Regions from separate parts of the Homo sapiens genome. Here all the other regions are linked to region 2. Evidence: promoter capture Hi-C in 16 types of primary human blood cells and fetal thymus (Javierre and others, 2016). All regions are on one chromosome and are shown on one strand. The core of a region is centred on a gene start or on the middle of the fragment in contact, and the rest is flanking DNA. Distances in the headings are between cores, read along the strand shown. Region 1 overlaps PCED1B (PC-esterase domain containing 1B). Region 2 holds the start of LINC02416 (long intergenic non-protein coding RNA 2416). Region 3 overlaps PCED1B (PC-esterase domain containing 1B).

Region 1 (2,700 bases), core at 163-2,662, 220 kb before region 2:
CATCTCTACTAAAAATACAAAAATTAGCTGGGCGTGGTGGCGGGCGCCTGTAGTCCCAGCTACTCGGGAAGCTGAGGCAGGAGAATTGCTTGAACCCCAGAGGCAGAGCTTGCAGTGAGCTGAGATTGTGCCACTGCACTACAGCCTGGTGACAGAGTGAGACTCTATCTCAAAAAGATATATACATGCATATACATGTTTTCACATATATTTTCAATCTATTTTTCTTCTTTCCTAATCCACAGAACAGAGCTCACACTATATATACCCCTTCACTCATTTTTTAACTTATTACCAAATATTGAGAATCATTTCATATACATACATTACAGTATCTTTTAGGAACCAGTATTTGCACCGATGGATTTAACTTTATTTCACCAATCTCTACTGATAGGAATTGGTCATTTAGTTTGTTGCCATTACAAATAATGCTTTAATTAATGAGTTTGGTGTCCATGTCCATAGATCTAGGTGAACTTCCATCACTATATTCCTATAGTAAATTTCATACAATGGGCTTGCTCCTTCAAAGGATATATGCAATTAAGATTTTTATTCAAAGTACCAGCTAATATGTTAAAGAAAGTTAATTTTTTTATTTTTATTTTTATTTTTATTTTTTTGCACCACGAACACATGCACTTTATTGAATGACATTGTAGAAAAGTGTGTGAGGATAAAGGGCTGATACAGGACTCAGCTTTGGGGGCAGGGCAAGGAATGGAAGGCGGAGTGCATGGGAGACAGGTTGTGGGCAGAGCTCCTGGCCCGGATGCTGTCTCCTGTTCTATCGAGAGACTTGGAAGATCAGCACTGAGATGATGATGAGCAGAATGGTCAGGAGGATGCCCAGAGCCAGGGCCCAGATGTTCAGGCACTTGGCAGTGGAGACACAGGCCTGGGCCCCAGTCAGGTCACCAACCATCTTCCTGTCCATAGACTTCCTGTCCTAGACTTCACAGAGTAGATGAATGCTATGAAGTCCGGGCAGCAGGAATTCTTGAAGAGGGTGTTGAATAGGGACCAGACGACATGGTCGGGCACGGAGGTCTCACTGCAGATGTGGATCATGGTGAACGCTGGAGGCACAGGGTTGTGGGGTGCCCCCAGCACAGCCACCTCATGCTTCTCCTTGAGCATCTCATGGTTGGTGGAGCGGCCGGTGTTGGCAGGAGTGAAGAGGGTTTGGACAGTGTGGTTCATGGTCTCCAGGGAGAACCAGCTGTGGTTGGGTTGCTGGGATGGTTCTCCAAAAAAAAAAAAAGATTTTTATAGATAAGAACAAGTTACTCTCCAGGAGAGCATTCAAAGTTACACTTCCACCAAAAGGGTACAGTAGCCTTTTTTCCTCCATACTTTCACCAGTACTCACCATTCAATTTCTTTCTTTTTTTTTTTTTTTGGCCAATTTGATAGATATATCATGTTTTGGTATTCATTTCCTTTATTATAATCATCTTTCACATACTTCTTGCCCATTTGTACTTTTGCTCTGTAAGATGCATGATCTTATCTTTTGCCCATTTTTCTATTGATTTGCTCACCTTTCAATTCATTTGAATGAGCGCTTTGTAAATCAAGAAAATTAGCCTGTCCACCTGTCAAAAGTTTCTAATGATTGAAATAAATTATTTTCTTCCCTTTATCTTAACAGATAGACTTCTTAAGCCCTCTTATGCAAAGAATTTCAGGCTGATTTCACTTTAAAATGAGATATAGGTGATAACAAAAGCCAAATTGTCACCTACTTTAAAGGATAAGTGAATAATAAGAAGGCAGCATGATGTACCCAAGGGAAATTTGAGTGATCTTAGCTGGGAAAGAAACCAAATATTCATGCCTTTATGCACTGCACAAAACTTGCACACCAGAACTTTAAAAGATGACTCTTTGAAAGTAGTTCTTCAGTGTCTTTCATACTCCTTAATCTTCCCAATTTTAAGTAACACTGTTGACAAACTTTAATTTCCATTTTAATAATCTTAGCATCATTATGAGATAGTATTAGGCAAATATTTAAGTATAAACGATATCTACAAACTTTAATTTCCATTTTAATAATCTTAGCATCATTATGAGATAGTATTAGGCAAATTTTTAAGTATAAACGATATCTACATATACTAGAAGACAAGTCATAGTTCAAGAGAAGCATGATATAAAAAGGCCATTATGATGAGAGTCAGTGGACTTGGATTCTAGATGTGCCACCGTCACTCCTTTGCCACGTAACCTTGGGTAACTCCCTCAGTTTCTGTGGTTCTGTTTTCTCATCTATAAAATGAAAATAATAATAACTTTTCTTCCTAGCCAATACCTTGTTTTGCTAATTAAAAGAACTCATGAAGTATTTTGCAAACTATGCAACACTCTCGATTACTGTAATTGTTGGGAAGTAACATATCTGTAGACTACTTTCAGCAATGTCTTATTGCCATTCTCCAGGTTGTGAAAGGTTCTGGTACTGATTACAAAATCTATTTTGAAAATTTCCCATGATATGAATATAAACAAAGTCTTAATTTCATTTTTTATTTCCTTCACATTTAAACAATTAATGGCATATTTTGATTAAACATGCTAGCTTCTTATTTGATCATGTCCAAAATATGTCTTCAAATATAGATGTGATTAGAGTGGAATCATCAACAAATCCAAGGCAATCCTTTGCAAAAATAATTTATCTGTTATTGGAGA
Region 2 (2,700 bases), core at 18-2,517:
AAGTGAAGTAAGTTCAAAGTTACTTGTTTAAAAAATAAATACAAAGAAAATATTCTTTTCTGGCTGCCAATCTGTTAAAAAATTAAAAAGTAATATATAGTTTGGGGTTGTAATTATCAGGCTATTGTAATTTGCCCTAATTTTTGTACAGTTTTATTTATTTCAAATGTCCAATTTTAAGGAGAAGATAATAGACTTCAAATTATGGATAGAGAGATTGTAATAGAAATCTCTTCAGATACTAAGAAACCTGGTTTCATTTCATTCTCTTTGACATTTCATTCTCTTTGATCTTTAATATCCTTATCATTGGTCCTAAAATCCACTAGCTCTTTTTGGGTTACATGAACATTATTAACTTCAGATATTCTACAAGTCATGCATGTTGACTTGGGGTTCTGGTTTTGGCTATTATCTTATGCAGACTGGTGCCGTCTACCAGCAGCTTGGTACACACATTTTTTTCCTCACCAAAGATGGATTAAAGAAATAAAGTAGCAGAAGTTTTGTGAATAGTGGGTTTGACAGTAATGCATATACCAAGATATATGCTGGTAAAATGTATCCATCCAGCAGCCTTAATTTTTACATATAAAGTTGTCCCTTGGTATTCACGGGGGATTGGTTCCAGGACCCCCTGTGGGTACCAAAATCTGCAGATACTCAAATCCCTGATATAAGATGGTGTAGTGTTTGCATACAACCTATGCACATCCCCCATATACTTTAAATCATATCTAGATTACTTATAATGCCTAATATAATGTAAATGCTATGTAAATAGTTGTTGCATTGTGTTGGTTTTTTATTTGTTTTTTTGTTGTTGTTGTCATTTTAATTTTTTTCAGACATTTTTGGTCTATGGTTGGTTGTATTTGCAGATGCAGAATCCTCATATACAGAGGGCCAGCTGTAACTCATATGTTTTCAAGAGGATCTTCTCAATATAACAATGTGTAGCTTATGGCCAGGCACAGTGGCACACGCCTGTAATCCCAGCACTTTGAGATGCCAAGGCTGGCAGATCTCTTGAGCTCAGGAGTTTGAGACCAGCCTGCAAAACACAGTGAAACCCTGCCTCTATAAAAAATACAAAAATTAGGTGGGCATGGTAGTCTGTGAATGTAGTTCCAGCTACTTGGGAGGTTGAGGTGGAAGGATCACTTGACCCCAGGAGGTCAAGGCTGCAGTGAGTCATGAGTGTGCCACTGCACTCCAGCCTGTGCGACAGAGTGAGACTCCGTCTCAAGAAAAGAAAAGAAAAAGGAAACTGCAACGATGAACAGATCAGAATAGGCGACATGCACTGAACAAGGTAAAAAAGACAGAAAATTATCTGGAGAGGTGGCCGGAGGACACATCAAGAAGCGCCTTGTACATTGGTAAGGATTGTGGATTTTATGGTGATTAAAAGTTGCTGTGGGGTTTTTTGAGTACAGGAATGACTTAACCGGTATAATGTTTGTAAAAGGATCCATTTGGCTGCTGTGCAGAGAAATAGACAGGACAAAGTAAGTGGAGAAGCCAGGATACATACAGGAAGCTATGGTCATTGTCCTGGTGAAAGCAATCCACAACTTGGGCCTGGTAGGGACAAAGGTGAAAAGTTGCTAATTCTACATGTATTCTTTGATGGATTGGGCATGGAGAGGGAGAGAAAGGGAGTGGTCAATAAGATTCCAAAGTTTTGGGCCCAAGCAATTGAGTAAAACCGTGGTGACTTTTACTGAAATAGGAAAAACTGAGGTGGGTCAGTCTGGGGCAGGGGGAAATATGAAATTCCATTTGAGAGCTGTTAAGTTTGAGATATCTATTATATAATCAAGTGGGTATGTCAAGTAGGCATTTGTTGGTTTTTATAATTGTATTAGTCAGGGTTCTCTAGAGGGACAGAACTAATGGGATAATATATGATATATACATATATATGATATATATATATATATATCAATTGTACCCCAAACCTCAGCATCACATAATATACTCATGTAACAAACCCACACATGTATCCCTGAATCTAAAATAAAAGATGAAATTATAAAAAAAGTTATATTGAAGCGTGAAATATTGATTACAATTTTGAAGCATAAAATATATCGATTATTATCATGGTTATTACTGAGTATCAACTTGATTGGATTGAAGGATGCAAAGCACTGATCCTGCGTGAGTCTGTGAGGGTGTTGCCAAAGGAGATTAACATTTGAGTCATATATATATATATAGATATAGATATATAGATATAGATATAGATATAGTTTAGTAAGTATTAACTCACACAATCACAAGGTCCCACAATAGGCCATCTGCAGGCTGAGGAGCAAGGAAAGCCAGTCTGAGTCCCAAAGCTGAAGAACATGGAGTCTGATGTTTGAGGGCAGGAAGGGTCCAGCATGAGAGAAAGATGTAGGCTGGGAGGCTAGGCCAGTCTAGTCTTTTCATGTTTTTTTGTTGTTTTTTTTTTTTTCTGCCTGCTTTATATTATAGCCATGCTGGCAGCTGATTAGATGGTGCCCACCCAGATTAAGGGTGGGTCTGCCTTTCCCAACCCACTGACTCAAGTGTTAATCTTCTTTGGCAACACCCTCACAGACACCTGCAGGATCAGTGCTTTGCATCCTTCAATCCAATCAAGTTGACACTCAGTATTAACCATGATAATAATAAATATATTCTGTGCTTCAAAATAGTTGTAATCAA
Region 3 (2,700 bases), core at 16-2,515, 240 kb before region 2:
TTTTTTTAAAGAGCCAATAAATACTTCCAAGTGTCTCATAAGCAACCAGCTGTGCTTGTTCTAGCTGAGGTACCTCGGTTTATTTACAGATCTTATTAGAAAGTCACTTCTTCTCATGGTAAAGGGAGCCGATGTCATTTTGTACATCTTTGAAGGAATTCAGTATCATTCATGGATTATCCATTCATGGGTTCTCTGATCGCTCAAAGGCACCGGCACTGCCCCTCATAAGCTGTTGGTGGGGGTCGTGTAGCCCCTCCATAAGATGGCCAGAGAAAAGGCAGCCCACCTGACTCAGAGCTGCCAACCCCCAGCCCACGCGAGCTCTGTGCTTGATTATGGGTGTGTATTACCATCTGGTATGTGGGTTTAGCAGTAAGAATAGGAGAATCAATCAGGCTTTCCATGTCATATGTTGCTATTATTTTATTTAACACTTGTTCTATGGCCAATACTGCACCAAGCACAGCATAAAATCTGGAATTACTTGATACACTCCCTATCTATTATCCAAGGGAAACTTCTGCCAAACTTGCATCAGGGGATTCCTCTCAGTCCACTGAAAAGTGACTTTATTTCCTAATGACTTCCAAATACAGAGTCTTGATTGTTTAAAGACTAAAAGCTATGCTTTAGAATTTTAAGTAAGATCCATTTTAATAAGATTCTCTTAGCAAATTTCTCTATACTTCATTAAGTTTCTATCCTGGAGGAAAATATATCTCTCCATATTCCATGATGTTAGTGGAGGAAATGAAGCAACCACTTCCACTCACTATTTCCCTGGCTGTTTCTATTTAACAAAACGGTGATTTTAGCTGAAGCTTTGTTTGTGATTTTAATCACAATCTATATGTTGGACCTCAGTAATTAGAAATTTGAGTGTTTGTCGTAAAAAGCTACTTCCAGGGTACATTATTTTACCATGATGCCTTCCAATGTGTGGTCTCTTAAAAACTCTGTAAGGTCACATTATTAGCCAGTGTTTGTAATAGACATAGTACCTGCCTTTCTCTTATGCCTTTTGGAAGACTCTTCAATTCTTCCCTGGGCTCCAGGGAGTACTGGGATTATTCAAGTGCTTCCTTCCTTCAGCTAAGAGACTAAAGTTTCATTTTTACAGTAAAGAGCCTCAGCCTGCAGAGAGCGGTAACAGCTTCTTGGGCATGTCAGCCCTTGCACATACGACTGCCCTGCTGTGTGCAAAAGCAAATGGAATTTCCTTTCCTTTCCTCTTAACTGATATTCCTTCACTCTTGTTAGGTTTGCCTTTACAATCTATTACCAAAAACTGGACAACAGAACTAGCATTATTTAAAAACATACACAATCCCCTCCCAATGACTTGGGGATGTCTTATTCATTCTGTAAAGCTGGGCACTGGGTTTGGTCTCTGGGATATACTAAGATGCTCAGACAGAGTCCCTGTTCTAAAGAAGTAGGGGAGAGGATTTATACTCAATTACATAATACTGTACAAGTGAGGACATAATATATGGTATCAGAGACGGCTATGGAAATTCAGAAGATGGGAAAATCTCTGAATTTAGGAATCACAGAAGGGGAATGAAAATACCTCACTTTTCTTGAACATATACTATGTATCAGGCACGGTGTTAGGCAGCTTACATACATGATTTAGTTCAATCTTCACAACCATGACATGATGAGGCATTTTTTACTCCAAATTTGGCAACAAAGAGAAAGAAGCTTGTCCAGATCTGACTGTTTGCTCAGCTTTCATGCTTTATACTGCATTGTTCCATACTGATGACGCTCCTGCTTCAAATCCTATTCCCCTGTTCTACCCCCACCTCCCAAAAGGAGCAGAAAGATTGAGAGGCTTCAGACAATCAGATTTTACCAGATTTGTACTGCTTTTTAGTTTGCATCAGAAATCTGTGGGACCTGTATGCAGAGAACCATATATGTCCAAAGTGTAGCCAAAATGCAATTTTTTTTTTTTAAGAATGTAATTTTAAGAATTGCATGGCTGGGCACAGTGGCTCACGCCTGTAATCCCAACACTTTGGGAGGCCAAAGCAGGTGGAACACCTGAGGTCAGGAGTTCGAAACCAGCCTGGCCAACATGACGAAACCCCGTCTCTACTAAAAATACAAAAATTAGCTGGGTGTGGTGGCGGGCAGAGTTTGTAGTGAGACGAGATTGCGCCCCTGCACTCCAGCCTGAGTGACAGAGCATGACTCCATCTAAAAAAGAAAAAAAAAACACACACACACACACACATAATTTATTTAGAGGTACACAATGGGGAAACCCTTTGTATGTCTGCATAGTTCTTTCTTCCTCTTGTGATTCCAGATGGGAATCTAGGACTTAGATAATTGACTACAGATTTACTGGGCTTGGGGAAAGATGCAAAGCCATAACACAGGAGCACACTTGTACAGAGAGAGCAGCTATCAGAATTCAGATTCAGCACACCTTCATGAGTATCCACTATGTGCCACTTAGAGGCTTATCTTTTACACTTTTATCTTCACACCAAACCTGCAAGTTGGATGCTAATCTCTCCCATTTGACACATGAGGAAACTGAGCCCACATAGAAAGTAAGTGATAGAGTTTAGATTCAAACTCAGGCCCTCTGCCTCAAGTCCAACTTATGACTTAAAAGCAGAAATATTTGAAGTCTGGAAAGAGGCTTTTCAGTTCATTAAAATCTGGCCTGTCAAAGCT

The links. The method cuts DNA at HindIII sites, captures the fragments that hold promoters and counts their contacts. A CHiCAGO score of 5 or more calls a contact.
Region 1: a contact is called between a fragment that was not itself captured here and the fragment with the promoter of LINC02416 in region 2, in 1 of 17 cell types (monocytes). The highest score is 5.5, in monocytes.
Region 3: a contact is called between a fragment that was not itself captured here and the fragment with the promoter of LINC02416 in region 2, in 2 of 17 cell types (activated CD4 T cells and total B cells). The highest score is 6.1, in activated CD4 T cells.

The regions. Positions count from the first base shown.
Region 1 is chr12:47,134,696-47,137,395 of GRCh38, forward strand. The region is part of intron 2 of PCED1B (PC-esterase domain containing 1B); the gene reads left to right. It also overlaps the pseudogene IFITM3P6. Among named protein-coding and RNA genes, the nearest start is that of MIR4698, 52 kb to the right of the region's middle. The HindIII fragment of the contact is 6,185 bases long and covers 1-2,700 here.
Region 2 is chr12:47,352,501-47,355,200 of GRCh38, forward strand. It overlaps LINC02416 (long intergenic non-protein coding RNA 2416), which reads left to right and starts at 1,268. Exons shown (of 4, transcript NR_183615.1): 1 at 1,268-1,382. The HindIII fragment of the contact is 14,565 bases long and covers 1-2,700 here.
Region 3 is chr12:47,111,737-47,114,436 of GRCh38, forward strand. All of the region lies in intron 2 of PCED1B (PC-esterase domain containing 1B), which reads left to right. Among named protein-coding and RNA genes, the nearest start is that of AMIGO2, 33 kb to the left of the region's middle. The HindIII fragment of the contact is 886 bases long and covers 823-1,708 here.